Regions from separate parts of the Homo sapiens genome. Here all the other regions are linked to region 1. Evidence: promoter capture Hi-C in 16 types of primary human blood cells and fetal thymus (Javierre and others, 2016). All regions are on one chromosome and are shown on one strand. The core of a region is centred on a gene start or on the middle of the fragment in contact, and the rest is flanking DNA. Distances in the headings are between cores, read along the strand shown. Region 1 holds the start of TIGD3 (tigger transposable element derived 3). Region 2 overlaps SNX32 (sorting nexin 32). Region 3 holds the start of RELA (RELA proto-oncogene, NF-kB subunit).

Region 1 (4,243 bases), core at 1,586-4,085:
AGCAGAACTGTTTTTAACACAAAGTTCAAGGAAGCAGTCTGTCCAAAAAGCCCAAATTCCACCTTTCTAAGTGGCTGCCTCTAGACTAACTCCCTTTCAAAGGCTCTAGAACTTTCAAGCAGGGTCTAGAAACTAAGCATCCTGGATTCCTACCCCCGAAGCCCCATCTTTAGAGCTCTCTTCCTGGGGTTTGGACGACTGCCACTCCAAGCTCAGACTTGGTGTCCCAACTTCTCTCCCTTCTACACCTTTACGACAGTTCTATTTCCACAGGAAAGAGACAGCCCGATCTGCCTTCTGAAGAGGCCGTTTCCATGGGAAACAAGAGAGGAAGGGGCTCTGGCAAGCAGTGAAGGCGCCTTCATAGGCAGCAAAGCCGCTCCACCTCCTCCTCACAGTCGTAGAATTTTTCGAATAGCTCAGGAGAAGTGCTGTTGCATTCAAACCACCTCCTCAAGGTGCCCAGGGCCCGGAGGGCATCAGCTTTGGTGGGCAGGGGCTCAAAGGCACCCTCTCTGTCCCCCTTCTCGTCTTCAGTGCCTATCTCCTCCTTACATACTCCAGACCTTGGCTCCTCACCCTCCAGGTCCACAAAGCGGGAAAACTCCTCCAGGCTCAGCCCGCCGGGGACTGGTGGCATCTCAGAGGTTTTGTGCGAGGACGGGGGCGTTTTGCCGGGAGCCAGCCCTTCTTGAATGAAGCTGCTGAAAATGAGCTGAGGAGGCACCTTGGCCCAGGCGGCAGACGCCACGTGCAGGGCGTCCAGCACGGTGATGCCTGCCCCGGCCTCGGCCAGCGAGGTGCCATCCCTCTCGCTTTGGATGGCAGCCAGTTTGCCCAACAGCCGGTGTCGGTAATGGGCCTTAAAGGCCCGGACCACTGAGCTGGGCAGGGGAGGCGTGGTGCTAGAGGCGGCCAGAGGCAAGAGCTTCACGTGGTAGAGCCCAGGCAGGCCTGCCAGCTCCTCCACCACTCGGGCAGCCAGCAGCAAAGCCACCTGTCGGCCCTGCTGTCCCATGTCCCGGTCAAACTGTGCCAACCACTCTAACCAGGGGATGCCCAGGTCCGGGTGGTAGGAGGCAGGCAGAGCCTCACTGCGGATCCCAAAGAAGCATCTCGGGGCAGCCTGGAGCCCACCCAGCAGTACCCGCCGCTTCTCGGTGCCCCTGCTGTTGGCACACAGCAGCACCTGTACTTGATCACATGCACCAAAGCTGCCGGGCACTGCCCGATACAGCAAGGGCAATTCAGCACAGCCAAACACGTCCTCTGGAGAGAAGTCTTTTAGGGAAAGAGGCAGCTGAGCCTGGGATGTGAGCCCCGGGGGAGGTGGCTCAGGGGGGAATGAAGGCGCAAGAACATGGCGGGCCCCAAAGCCGACGTTGTTTCGGCGTTTCCAGCGGACCAGCCAGCCGATGCTGGGCACGAAGTCCTGGCCCATGATATCGGCCAGCTCCTTGGCTTTGTGGAGCAGCATGGGCCCCGTCACGTCCCAGGCCTTGGCCCGGGCAATGTGGTACCAGCAGAGCAGAGCCTCGTCGATCCCGCTGTACTTGGACTCCCGCTTGCGCTTGCGCTCTCGGTTGGCTGTGCCGCTGCACCAGTCCGCCAGCAGCTTCTCCTTATTCTTGCAGATGCGCGAGATCTGGGGCTGGGAAACCTGGAAGCGCCGGGCCACCTCCGACTGGGACATCTTGGACTCATCCAGGAGTTCCAGCACCTGGATCTTCTCGGCCAGGGACAGGGCGTGAAGCTTCTTCTTGCTGCTCAGCTCCATGGCCTCTCCGGGGCACCTGTGCGGGGAGGAAAGATTGAGCGGGTAGAGTAATCTGAGGCCGGAAGAGCTAGGAAAGGAGCGCAGGAGGGAAAAGAGATTAGATGAGGACTTGCGCAGGCACCGGGTGAGACTGGACCCGCTGAAAGAGGAAGTGGCTAGGCCGAGTGGAAGCCGGCTGGCCCCGTCCCCAGGATGCCAGGGCAGAGCTGGGGAGGGGGCGTCTCTCCACTCAGAAGGACAGGGGAGTCTGGGCTGGGGTCTGGCCTCACTCGGGAAGAAGGATGAAAAGTGCAGGGGACAGCTGCAGAGATAACAAAGGCATACGGACGGGGGAGGGCCTGGGACTGGGGCCGAGGGGGCAGGTGTGGGGCTACGGGGCTGCGGGGGAGGAGCCCCCGGGAGGGAGTGGGAGGCGGCTTGGGCTGGATTCAGATGACGCCGCTGGGGGGTGGGAGGTGGGTGGATGCACACAGAGTTGAGGTGACAGGTGTACAGACGACAAAGGGGACAGAGGGTGTCTGAAGGAGCGAGGCTAATTTGGTGCCGGGTCCTGAGAGGGAGGCTAGGCGACGGTCAGTCCTGAGGGGAGCGAGAGGGCAGGGCCGAGGGCGCAGGTGCACGAGCGACAAAGGGCGGGAGGCCTGAGGAGGCTGCGGGCAGCGGAGGGGCGGGGTGTCCCCGCGGGGAGGGTGGTGGCCTGGGAGGGTCCCAGGGCGCGGGAACGAACGCCCGGACCCAGGCAGGCCGGCAGCCGGACTCCGTGCCCTGGCCGGTCACTCCCCCTCGACCCGGAGTATGTCGGCGGGGCGGCCCCAGGCGCCCGCCCGCCCGGCCTCCCGCTCCGCACCCACCTCAGGCGCTGGTCCCGCGGCTCCAGCCCCTGCCCCCAGCCCGGCTCCCGAGCCCCTGTCCGGGCGGCGACAGCAGAACAGGGGAGGGATGGGCGCCACGACCCCGAGGGCAGAGCGGACCGAGGGCCTGCGCGGACGGCGGGCGGGCGGGCGCGCGCACAGCAGAGTCCCGTGCGCGCCGCCCGCGCCGGGCTCTCTCCCGGCTGCGAAGTCCGCGGTGCGGCCCCTCTGCACCCACCCGCCGCAGCCCCGCCCCGGCCCAAGCAGATTGGTCCTCAGTGGCGCCCCGTCCCTCCCCCGGCTAAGTTTCATTGGACGTTGCGGAAGTGGCGGTTCGTCGAGCCCCTCTGGGGGCGGGGCTTCTAGCGCGGAGGGGCGGGAGGCGGAGCCAGGAACCAGCAGGACTCCCCTGGGCGCCTCCAGCAGCCGCCGACCCCGAGGGCCCGACGAGCCCTGTAGGTGGTGTGGTGACCGCCGAGCTGACTTGGCGTCCCAAAGCCTCCCTGGCCGTGACCCTAGACCGCATCGGCTTCTTCGTCTACCAAGCAGGGCTAACAGCCCTCACGGAATTGTTTTGGGAAAACGATGAAAGGAGAAAATGGATGCAAGCTTTAAGCCACACAAAAGCTGGTTACCATGGACAGCGCTGGCTCGAGTCTGTCGGCCACGGAAACACTGCATGCTTGGGCCAGTAATGATTTAGGACGAGTATTTTATTAGATTTGGTACTTTACAAGATTCAAGTTCTTAAACTCAAGATCTGGCATCGTTCCCTTCCCTGCTAACCTTCAGTCCCGAATTAAACGCAGACGTCTTGACCCGCAGCCCAGCTGCTCTCCAGCCTCGCTGCTCCCTCCGCTCACAGCTCCGCATCCTCTGCCTTCCTCACAGGCTTCCGTCCGCACCCCCGTCCTACCGGCTGACACTGTCCAACTCTCCAAGACCCATCTCAAATCCTACCTCCCGCAAACCCTTCCTAAATTTCCTCACCTAGGCCTGCTACAGCGTTCTTATTTTCCACATTTCTTTTCTGGCTCTCGGACTACTCAGCTGCCAAAGCGCATCCATTGCTGTACTCCCTCTCTGCCTGGCCTACTTCAGTGGAAAAGCATGAGGACGGGCTGCGCTCTGCTCCTCACACAATCCCCAGCCCAGAGCACCCTGCTTATTTATTGAACATAACAGTGCAGGCCGGCCTAGGCTTCCCATAGGCAAGGATGACTTTCAGAATGTTCTAGAAAAAAGGATACTTCAGGGGGCCCATAACTGCTTGATTCAAATCTTTCCTTTAAAAACATAAAAACAACAGTTGGACTTCTAAAACACACACTGAAGACATACGCGCTGCCACGTAAGCTCTCCACATGTTCACTTTGCCTTCAGGGAAACTGTGTGCACATCAACGTGCCCTGGGAAAGGCTGCAGGGCTGCACTGCGGGCAGTTCAGATCCTAGAGCACTTGCTCTGGCCTGGGAGCGCTGCAGGCAACTGAAGCCACACAGACCCTGCTCCTGCAAGAACTTTTGTGTGTGTCCCATGGTGATGTCATTAGTTTGCTTATTAATTATATTTATATAAACTTCTGGTCCTGTTTTAAATGTCTGAGATTGCAAGG
Region 2 (4,243 bases), core at 1,076-3,575, 490 kb before region 1:
AGGCTCCTTCTTGCCCCACACCCATCAATTATCTCCCACCCCAGAACTAACCACCATTCTGACTTCTATCACCATAGATTATTCTGGCGTATTCTTTTTTTTTTTTTTCGAGACAGAGTTTCACTCTTGTTGCCCAGGCTGGAGTGCAATGGCACGATCTCAGCTCACTGCAACCTCTGCCTACCAGGTTCAAGCAATTCTCCTGCCTCAGCCTCCCGAGTAGCTGGGATTACAGTCATACACCACCACGCCCAGCTAATTTTGTATTTTTAGTAGAGATGGGGTTTCTCCTTGTTGAAGCTGGTCTGGAACTCCTGACCTCAGGTGATCCGCCCGCCTCGGCCTCCAAAGTGCTGGGATTACAGGCGTGAGCCACCGCACCCGTCCTGGCCTATTCTTTTTTTTGAGACGAAGTCTCACTCTGTCGCCCAGGCTGGAGTGCAGTGACATGATCTCAACTCACTGCAACCTCTACCACTCAGGCTTATGGGATTCTCCTGCTTCAGCCTCCCAAGTAGCTGGGATTACAGACGCCCACCACCACGTCCAGCTAATTTTTGTATTTTAGCAGAGACGGGGTTTCACCATGTTGGCCAGGCTGGTCTTGAACTCCTGACCTCAGGTGATCCACCCACCTTGGCCTCCCATAGAACTGGGATTACAGGTGTGAGCCACTGAGCCCAGCCTATGCTGGCCTGCCTATTCTTGAACTTCACAGAAATGCAATTATGCATTGTGTATTCTTTTGTGCCCCTGTTCTTTAGAGAGCTCTCTACGTTGTTGAGTGGAGAAGCAGTTATTTTCATTGCTGTGTCTTATTTCATTACATGATTATATCATAATGTATGTATCTACTGTTGATGGTCATTTGGATTATTTCAAGTTTTTGGCTATTATGAATAAAGCTGCCATGAACAGTTTTTTGTTGGTTTTTTTTTGAGATGGAGTTTTGCTCTTGTTGACCAAGCTGGAGTGTAATGGCAAGATCTCGGCTCACTGCAACCTCTGCCTCCTGGTTCAAGCGATTCTCCTGCCTCAGCTTCCTGAGTAGCTGGGATTACAAGCATGGGCCAGCATGCCTGGCTAATTTTTTGCATTTTTAGTAGAAACGGGGTTTCATTATGTTGGCCAGGTTGGTCTCAAACTCCTGACCTCAGGTGATCCGCCCACCTTGGCCTTCCAAAATGTTGGGATTACAGGCGTGAGCCACTGCAACCGGTTACTTTTTTTTTTTTTTTGAGATGGAGTCTTGCTCTGTTGCCCAGGCTGGAGTGCAGTGGCACGATCTCAGCTCACTGCAACCTCCGCCTCCCGGGTTCATGCCATTCTCCTGCCTCAGCCTCCCTAGTAGCTGGGATTACAGTCATACACCACCACGCCCAGCTAATTTTGTATTTTTTAGTAGAGACGGGGTTTCACTGTGTTAGCCAGGATGGTCTCGATCTCCAGACCTCATGATCCGCCCGCCTCGGCCTCCCAAAGTGCTGGAATTACAGGAGTGAGCCACCACACCCAGCCTTTTTTTTTTTTTTTTTTTTTTAAAGCAGGGGGGTGTTCTCGCTATGCTGCCCAGGCTGGTTGAACTCCTGGCCTCAAGCCATCCTTCCACTTCAGCCTCCCAAGTAGCTGGGATTACAAGTGTGCAGCACCATGTCTGGCTTCCATGAACATTCTTACACAGGTCTTTAGAAGACTTTTTTTTTTTTTTTTGAGACAGAGTCTTGCTGTGTCACCCAGGCTGGAGTGCAGTGACGTGATCTTAGCTCACAGCAACCTCCGCCTCCCAGGTTCAAGTGATTCTCCTGCCTCAGCCTCCTGAGTAGCTGGGGATACAGGTGCCCGCCACCACGCCTGGCTAATTTTTGTAATTTAGTAGAGATGGGGTTTCGCCATGTTGGCCAGGCTGCTCTTGAACTCCTGACCTCAAGTGATCTGCCCGCTTCGGCCTCCCAAAGTGCTAGGATTACAGATGTGAGCCACCACGCCCAGCCGTCTTTTGAGGACTTTTGACCTAAGTCCCCATTTCTGTTGGGCATGAGAATTGCTTAGTTACAGGGAAGACATATTGTATGTTTAAAACACTTTAGTAAATACTGCCAAACGGTTTTCTAAGGTGACTAAACCAATGTACACTCCCAGCAGCACTGTGTATGAAAGTTCCAGTTGTACTACATCTTTGCCACAGAGTCGTTAGTCATTTTATCTCTCTCTCTCTCTATTTATTATTTTTTTTTTTTTAAAGAAAAGGGGTCCTGCTAATGTTGTCCAGGCTGGCCTTGAACTGGGCTCAGGCAATCCTCTGGAGTAGCTGAGAGCTGCTTTTGTGTACACGTATCAATTGACCTATTAAGTATGATAAACTTTGGACTCTCTGTTCCATTGGTCTATGTTTGTCCTTATGATAATATCTCACTGGACTGATTACTGTAATCTAACAGGTGAGACTGGAAATCAGATAGTGCAAGGCCTCCACCTTTATTCTTTTTTTTCAGAATCATTTGGGTGATTATAGGTCCTTTACATTTCTACCCCTGAAAAACATACTGGGATTTTGATTGTGATTGCATCGAATATATAGATCAGTCTGGGCACAAACCACTGTGACAGCTCAGAATTGTTAGTCTTTTTTACTTTCACCCTGTTAGTCCAGGCATGGTAATTGCGCATGGGGAGTGTAACTGGTATTACCTGGTGAGGAATGATGTTGAGCGGCATTTTCTGTATTTATCAGCCATCTGCATATCTTCTTTTGTAAAGTGCCTATTCAGGTCTCTGATTCTTTCCTGCCACCTCTTTGAAAGATCAGATTATCTGTTTTTCAGTAATTTGTAGGAACTGTTGCTGGAGACAAACCCATTGTTGATTATACCTTTTGTCAGTATCTTTTCCTAGTCTATAGTTTGCCTTTGACTCTTAATGGTTCAAATGTTACAAGCTCAACATAACAGTCTTTTATGTCTATGGTTAAGGCTTTTTGTGTCCTGTTAAAGAAAACTTTGCCTACCCCAAGGTCATGAAGATATTCTATTTATTTTTCTAGAGGTGTTACAGTTTAAGCTCTTGCAGTTGTATCTATAATCCATTTTCTTTTTCTTTTTCTTTTTCTTTTGAGACAGAGTCTTGCTCTGTTGCCCAGGCTGGTGTGCAGTGGCACGATCTTGGCTCATTGCAACCTCCGCCTCCCAGGTTCGTGATTCTCCTGCCTCAGCCTCCTGAGTAGCTGCAATTACAGGTGCCCGCCACAACGCCTGGCTAATTTCTGTATTTTTAGTAGAGATGGGGTTTCACTCTTTTGGCCAGGCTGGTCTCAAACTCCTGACCTCAAGTGATCTACCCTCCTTGGCCTCCCAAAGTGCTGGGATTACAGGCATGAGCCACCCTACCTGGCTATGATCTATTTTCAATTCATTTTCTTCATTTTAATTTTAATTTCTTTTTCTTTTTTTTTTTTTTTTGAGACGGAGTCTTGCTCTGTCGCCCAGGCTGGAGTGCACTGGCGCAATCTCGGCTCACTGCAAGCTCCACCTCCTGGGTTCAAGCCATTCTCCTGCCTCAGCCTCCCTAGTAGCTGGGACTACAGGTGCCCACCACGCCCAGCTAATTTTTTGTATTTTTAGTAGAGACGGGGTTTCACCATGTTAGCCAGGATGGTCTCGATCTCCTGACCTCATGATCCCCCGGTCTCGGCCTCCCAAAGTGTTTCTTTTTTTTTTTTTTTTTTTTTTTGAGATGGAGTTTCGCTCTTGTTGCTCAGGCTGGAGTGCAATGGCGGATCTCGGCTCATTGCAACCTCCGCCTCCCAGGTTCAAGCGATTCTCCTGCCTCAGCCTCCCAAGTAGCTGAGATTACAGGCGCCCACCACCACACCCAGCTCATTTTTGTATTTTTAGTAGAGACGGGGTTTCACTATGTTGGCCAGGCGGTCTCGAACTCCTGACCTCAGGCGATCCACCCCCCCTTGTTCTCCCAAAGTGCTGGGATTACAGCCATGAGCCACCGTGCCTGGCCTAATTTTAATTTCTTGAGATGGAGTCTTGCTTTGTCACCCAGGCTGGAGTGCAGTGGCACGATCTTGGCTCACTGCAGCCTCTGCCTCCTGGGTTCATGCCATTCTCTTGCCTCAGCCTCCCAAGTAGCTGGGATTACAGGCGTGTGCCACCAGGCCCAGCTAATTTTTTTGTGTTTTTAGTAGAGACAGTGTTTCACCATGTTGGCCAGTCTGGTCTCAAACTCCTGACCTCAG
Region 3 (3,742 bases), core at 1-2,500, 310 kb before region 1:
GTCACCTGAAGTCGGCCTCCCCCGCCCCCTGCCAAAAGTAAACACTTTTCTAATCAGGGCCAGCCACTGGAGAAACTGAAATGAGTGGGCGGGGTGCTAACTCTATTTTCACTTTTCTCTTCCTGTTTCTTCAGAGCCTGGGAAACAAGTCAGAATTTCCAATCTTTTCCAATTCCCACATGATTTCCTAATTTAAGACGAATTCAGAGAAAATAAAAAAGTCTTTCTCCATCTGGAGAAGACTCCGCCCCCTGCAGTGGAGCATCCTCCTTTGGGGATGAGGCCTGGGGTGGGGGTGCGTCAGCCCCAGCCTCCACACGGACGCGCCTTGGGCTTGGTCTTGGGGGAGCTACCTGCACTGTGGGGTCACATGACAGAATTAGTGGTCAGCCCTAGCTGGAGGTCCAGGGCAAACACAGGCGGGGGCAGGGGGGTGGGGGGTCGTGAGCCTGCTGATTCAAGTGTCCCTGTGGGTCCCGCACCTTCTGAGACACAAGCGCCAGGCTTCAGAGACGAGGCTCCGGGATTTACCCCTGGGGGCCTCCTGCTCCCACAGCCGATGAGAGCCGGCAGTTTGGCTGTATCGTAAGCTGGCGCTTTAGCTGGAGAGGGACGAGCCCTCGGCCAGCTCGCCAGCGGGAGGGCCTCAGTCGTCCCATCCGGGCTGTAGGCTCCGCAAAGCTCTTGATGCACTGTCAGGCTGGGAGGTCCGGCCGCTCCCATTCCCCCACAGCCGCATCTAGATTGGGGTGGGTAGGACATTTTAACGTGCTTCTGAGACAGCCACCACCGAAAGGCACCTTTAGCGGTTAGGAAACCCGCGCGGAGTTCAACCACCCGGCCTCTGCGGAGCAGAAGGCCCGGTCGGGCTTTTCCCTGCGCGGGGCGGGCGGCCGCAGCCCAGTAGCCCTGGCTTTGCTCCAGACCCGGCCCAGAGTGACATCACCAAACTCCGCCGATCGGCGGGAGGGGGCCCTGAAATCCCCTAAAAACAAAGTGAGTAATCGGCGGACCCACCCTCCAGGCGGGGCCGGGACCCGGGAGCTAGCCGAGCCACCGGGCACGCCAGCCTCTTCGTCCTCGGCGAGGCGCGCACTTGGCCCCGACCCCCGGCAGCGGCTGTGCGTGCAGCCTCTTCGTCCTCCGCGCGGCGTGCACTTGCTCCCGGCCCCTGCGCCGGGCGGCGGCGGGGCAGCGCGCAGGCGCGGCCGGATTCCGGGCAGTGACGCGACGGCGGGCCGCGCGGCGCATTTCCGCCTCTGGCGAATGGCTCGTCTGTAGTGCACGCCGCGGGCCCAGCTGCGACCCCGGCCCCGCCCCCGGGACCCCGGCCATGGACGGTGAGGTCGCCCTCTGACCCCGCGGGGTGGCATCGCCGGGGCCGCCGCGGCTGTGGCGGGAGCCCCCGCGCCGCTTTCCGCCCCTTCCTGCGCCGACGGGCGCTGCGCAGGGAGCGGTCGGCCTGCCGGATGGTGGCGCGGGGCGGGGCAGGCGGGGAGGGGTCTGACTCAGTTTCCCCTCTGGGTGGAGGGGGTGGCCCTTGACTCAGCATCCTCCCTGGGTGGGGGAGCAGAGGGAACCTTGACTCAGTTTCCCTCCACACCGTCCATGGGGGCAGCTCTGGCTTCGTTTCCCTATTAGGGGAGAACGCATCTGATTCAGTTTCCTCTCTGGAGGGAGGTGGGGCGTGCCCTCCCTCAATTTTCCTTAAGAAAGTACAACAGGCCCTGATTCAGCTTCCCTCTGGAGAAGAAGGATTCCTTACCCCGTTTTCCCTCAAGAAGCAGGTGTTTCTGGTTCCTTTCCTCCACCCCTTAGTTTCACCGCAGGTTCTAGGGAGCAGGTCCTGACTCAGTTCCCCTGGGAGGGAGCCTGGCTTCTCCTCTCCGTGGAGAGCAGATTCCTCCTTGTGAGAATGGGCATTGGGTGTGTGCTGACCCTGATCTCCCTCCCCTTTCAGAACTGTTCCCCCTCATCTTCCCGGCAGGTAAGTGGCCCCCGCGGCGGTCGGGGAGGTGCTCCCTGGGGTAGGGCAGTGGGGGCAGCCGCCTAATGGGGCTGCGGTGTCCCCTGGCAGAGCCAGCCCAGGCCTCTGGCCCCTATGTGGAGATCATTGAGCAGCCCAAGCAGCGGGGCATGCGCTTCCGCTACAAGTGCGAGGGGCGCTCCGCGGGCAGCATCCCAGGCGAGAGGAGCACAGATACCACCAAGACCCACCCCACCATCAAGGTCAGCACTGCGCCAGGGTGTGCGGGGAAGGGACTGTGGAACCCCAGCCCTCTGTGTTTGGGAGTCAGGTTTGGATGTCTGGGCCTCTGTACTTTGGACAGATCAATGGCTACACAGGACCAGGGACAGTGCGCATCTCCCTGGTCACCAAGGACCCTCCTCACCGGCCTCACCCCCACGAGCTTGTAGGAAAGGACTGCCGGGATGGCTTCTATGAGGCTGAGCTCTGCCCGGACCGCTGCATCCACAGGTGAGGTCCCTGCAGGCTAGGAGGCCCAGCATGAGGGGACAGGAGGCGGGCTATGAAGTAGCCGCTACAGTGTTACTCCTTTCTGGACCCAGGGCAGAATTCCTCACTCCTTGCCCTGACTCAGCTCTGCAAGTAAACTGCCTTTGTCTTGAAATTATCTATTTGTACGTTTACTCTAGCAGATGAGTTCCAGGGGATACGGATGGGTCCCTAATCACTTCTGAATTCCTGACCCCTGTAGCTGGAAGGACAAGTCCCTCAGAGTCACGTCTCTTGTTTGAGGAAGAAAACCATTGAACCAGCACTCTCCCCTGGAGTTGACATTGCAGTTGACAGAGACAGGCTGTAAAAAAATATACAGGCCGGGCATAGTGGCTCATGCTTATAATCCTAGCACTTCGGGAGGCCAAGGCAGGAAGATCTCTTGAGCCTAGGAATTCAAGACTAGCCAAGGCAACATAGTGAGACCCCATGTCTACAAAAAATAAGAAATTAGCTGGGTATGGTGGCATGCGCCTATAGTCCCAGGGAGGCTGAGGTGGGAGGATCGCCTGAGCCCAGGAGGTCACTGCTGCGGCAAGCTATGATTGCACCACTGCACTTGGGTGGCAGGGCGATACCTTGTCTTTTTTTTTTTTTTTTTTTTTTTAAGAAAGAGTCTTGCTCTGTCCCCAGACTGGAGTGCAGTGGCGCGATCTCAGCTCACTGCAACCTCCACCTTCCGGGTTCATGCCATTCTCCTGCCTCAGCTTCCCGAATAGCTGGGACTACAGGTGCCTGCCACCACGCCTGGCTAATTTTTTGTATTTTTTAGTAGAGACAGGGTTTCACCGTGTTAGCCAGGATGGTCTCAATCTCCTGACCTTGTGATCTGCCTGTCTTGGCCTCCCAAAGTGCTGGGATTACAGGCTTGAGCCACCGCACCCGGCCCGACACTGTGTCTCTTAAAAATAAATAAATACACAGATAAATAAACAAGGTGCTGTCAGAGTAACAGTTTCAGTCCTGAAAATAAAACGAGGTCATAGGATAGAAGGATAACCTGGGGTGGGGGAGTTAGGGGAGCTGGTGTGTGATGACTTTAGATTGGGAGGTCAGGGAAGGCCTCCCTCAGCTAAGACTTGAATGGTGAGAAGGAGGAGAGAAGTAGGAAAAGAACATTCCAAGCCGACCAAACAAGTGCAAAGGCCTTGAGGTGGGAATGAGTGTCCTGTGTTTAGAGAGTGGAAAAGGAGCCCCGGTGGCTGTAAGCAGGGAGCCCAC

The links. Contacts are between HindIII fragments. The CHiCAGO score rates a contact against its expected background, and 5 or more counts as called.
Region 2: a fragment that was not itself captured here is called in contact with the fragment with the promoter of TIGD3 in region 1 in 1 of 17 cell types (neutrophils); the score reaches 5.5 in neutrophils.
Region 3: a contact is called between the fragment with the promoter of RELA here and the fragment with the promoter of TIGD3 in region 1, in 1 of 17 cell types (neutrophils). The highest score is 6.5, in neutrophils.

What each region holds. Positions count from the first base shown.
Region 1 is chr11:65,353,343-65,357,585 of GRCh38, reverse strand. TIGD3 (tigger transposable element derived 3) reads right to left here and starts at 2,835. Exons shown (of 2, transcript NM_145719.3): 1 at 2,629-2,835; 2 at 1-1,793. The coding sequence starts at 1,777. The coding sequence ends at 362. DPF2 (double PHD fingers 2) reads right to left here. Exons shown (of 11, transcript NM_006268.5): 11 at 3,324-4,243. RefSeq lists silencers at 2,128-2,317, 2,378-2,547, 2,558-2,617, 2,638-2,957, 3,048-3,107. The HindIII fragment of the contact is 1,484 bases long and covers 1,756-3,239 here.
Region 2 is chr11:65,842,433-65,846,675 of GRCh38, reverse strand. All of the region lies in intron 1 of SNX32 (sorting nexin 32), which reads right to left. Among named protein-coding and RNA genes, the nearest start is that of SNX32, 11 kb to the right of the region's middle. The HindIII fragment of the contact is 8,144 bases long and covers 1-4,243 here.
Region 3 is chr11:65,660,424-65,664,165 of GRCh38, reverse strand. It overlaps RELA (RELA proto-oncogene, NF-kB subunit), which reads left to right and starts at 1,250. Exons shown (of 11, transcript NM_021975.4): 1 at 1,250-1,340; 2 at 1,961-1,987; 3 at 2,078-2,229; 4 at 2,331-2,479. The coding sequence starts at 1,334. It overlaps RELA-DT (RELA divergent transcript), which reads right to left and starts at 1,160. Exons shown (of 4, transcript NR_183625.1): 1 at 1,018-1,160. RefSeq lists an enhancer at 744-943 and silencers at 1,034-1,443, 1,504-1,563. The HindIII fragment of the contact is 22,197 bases long and covers 1-3,742 here.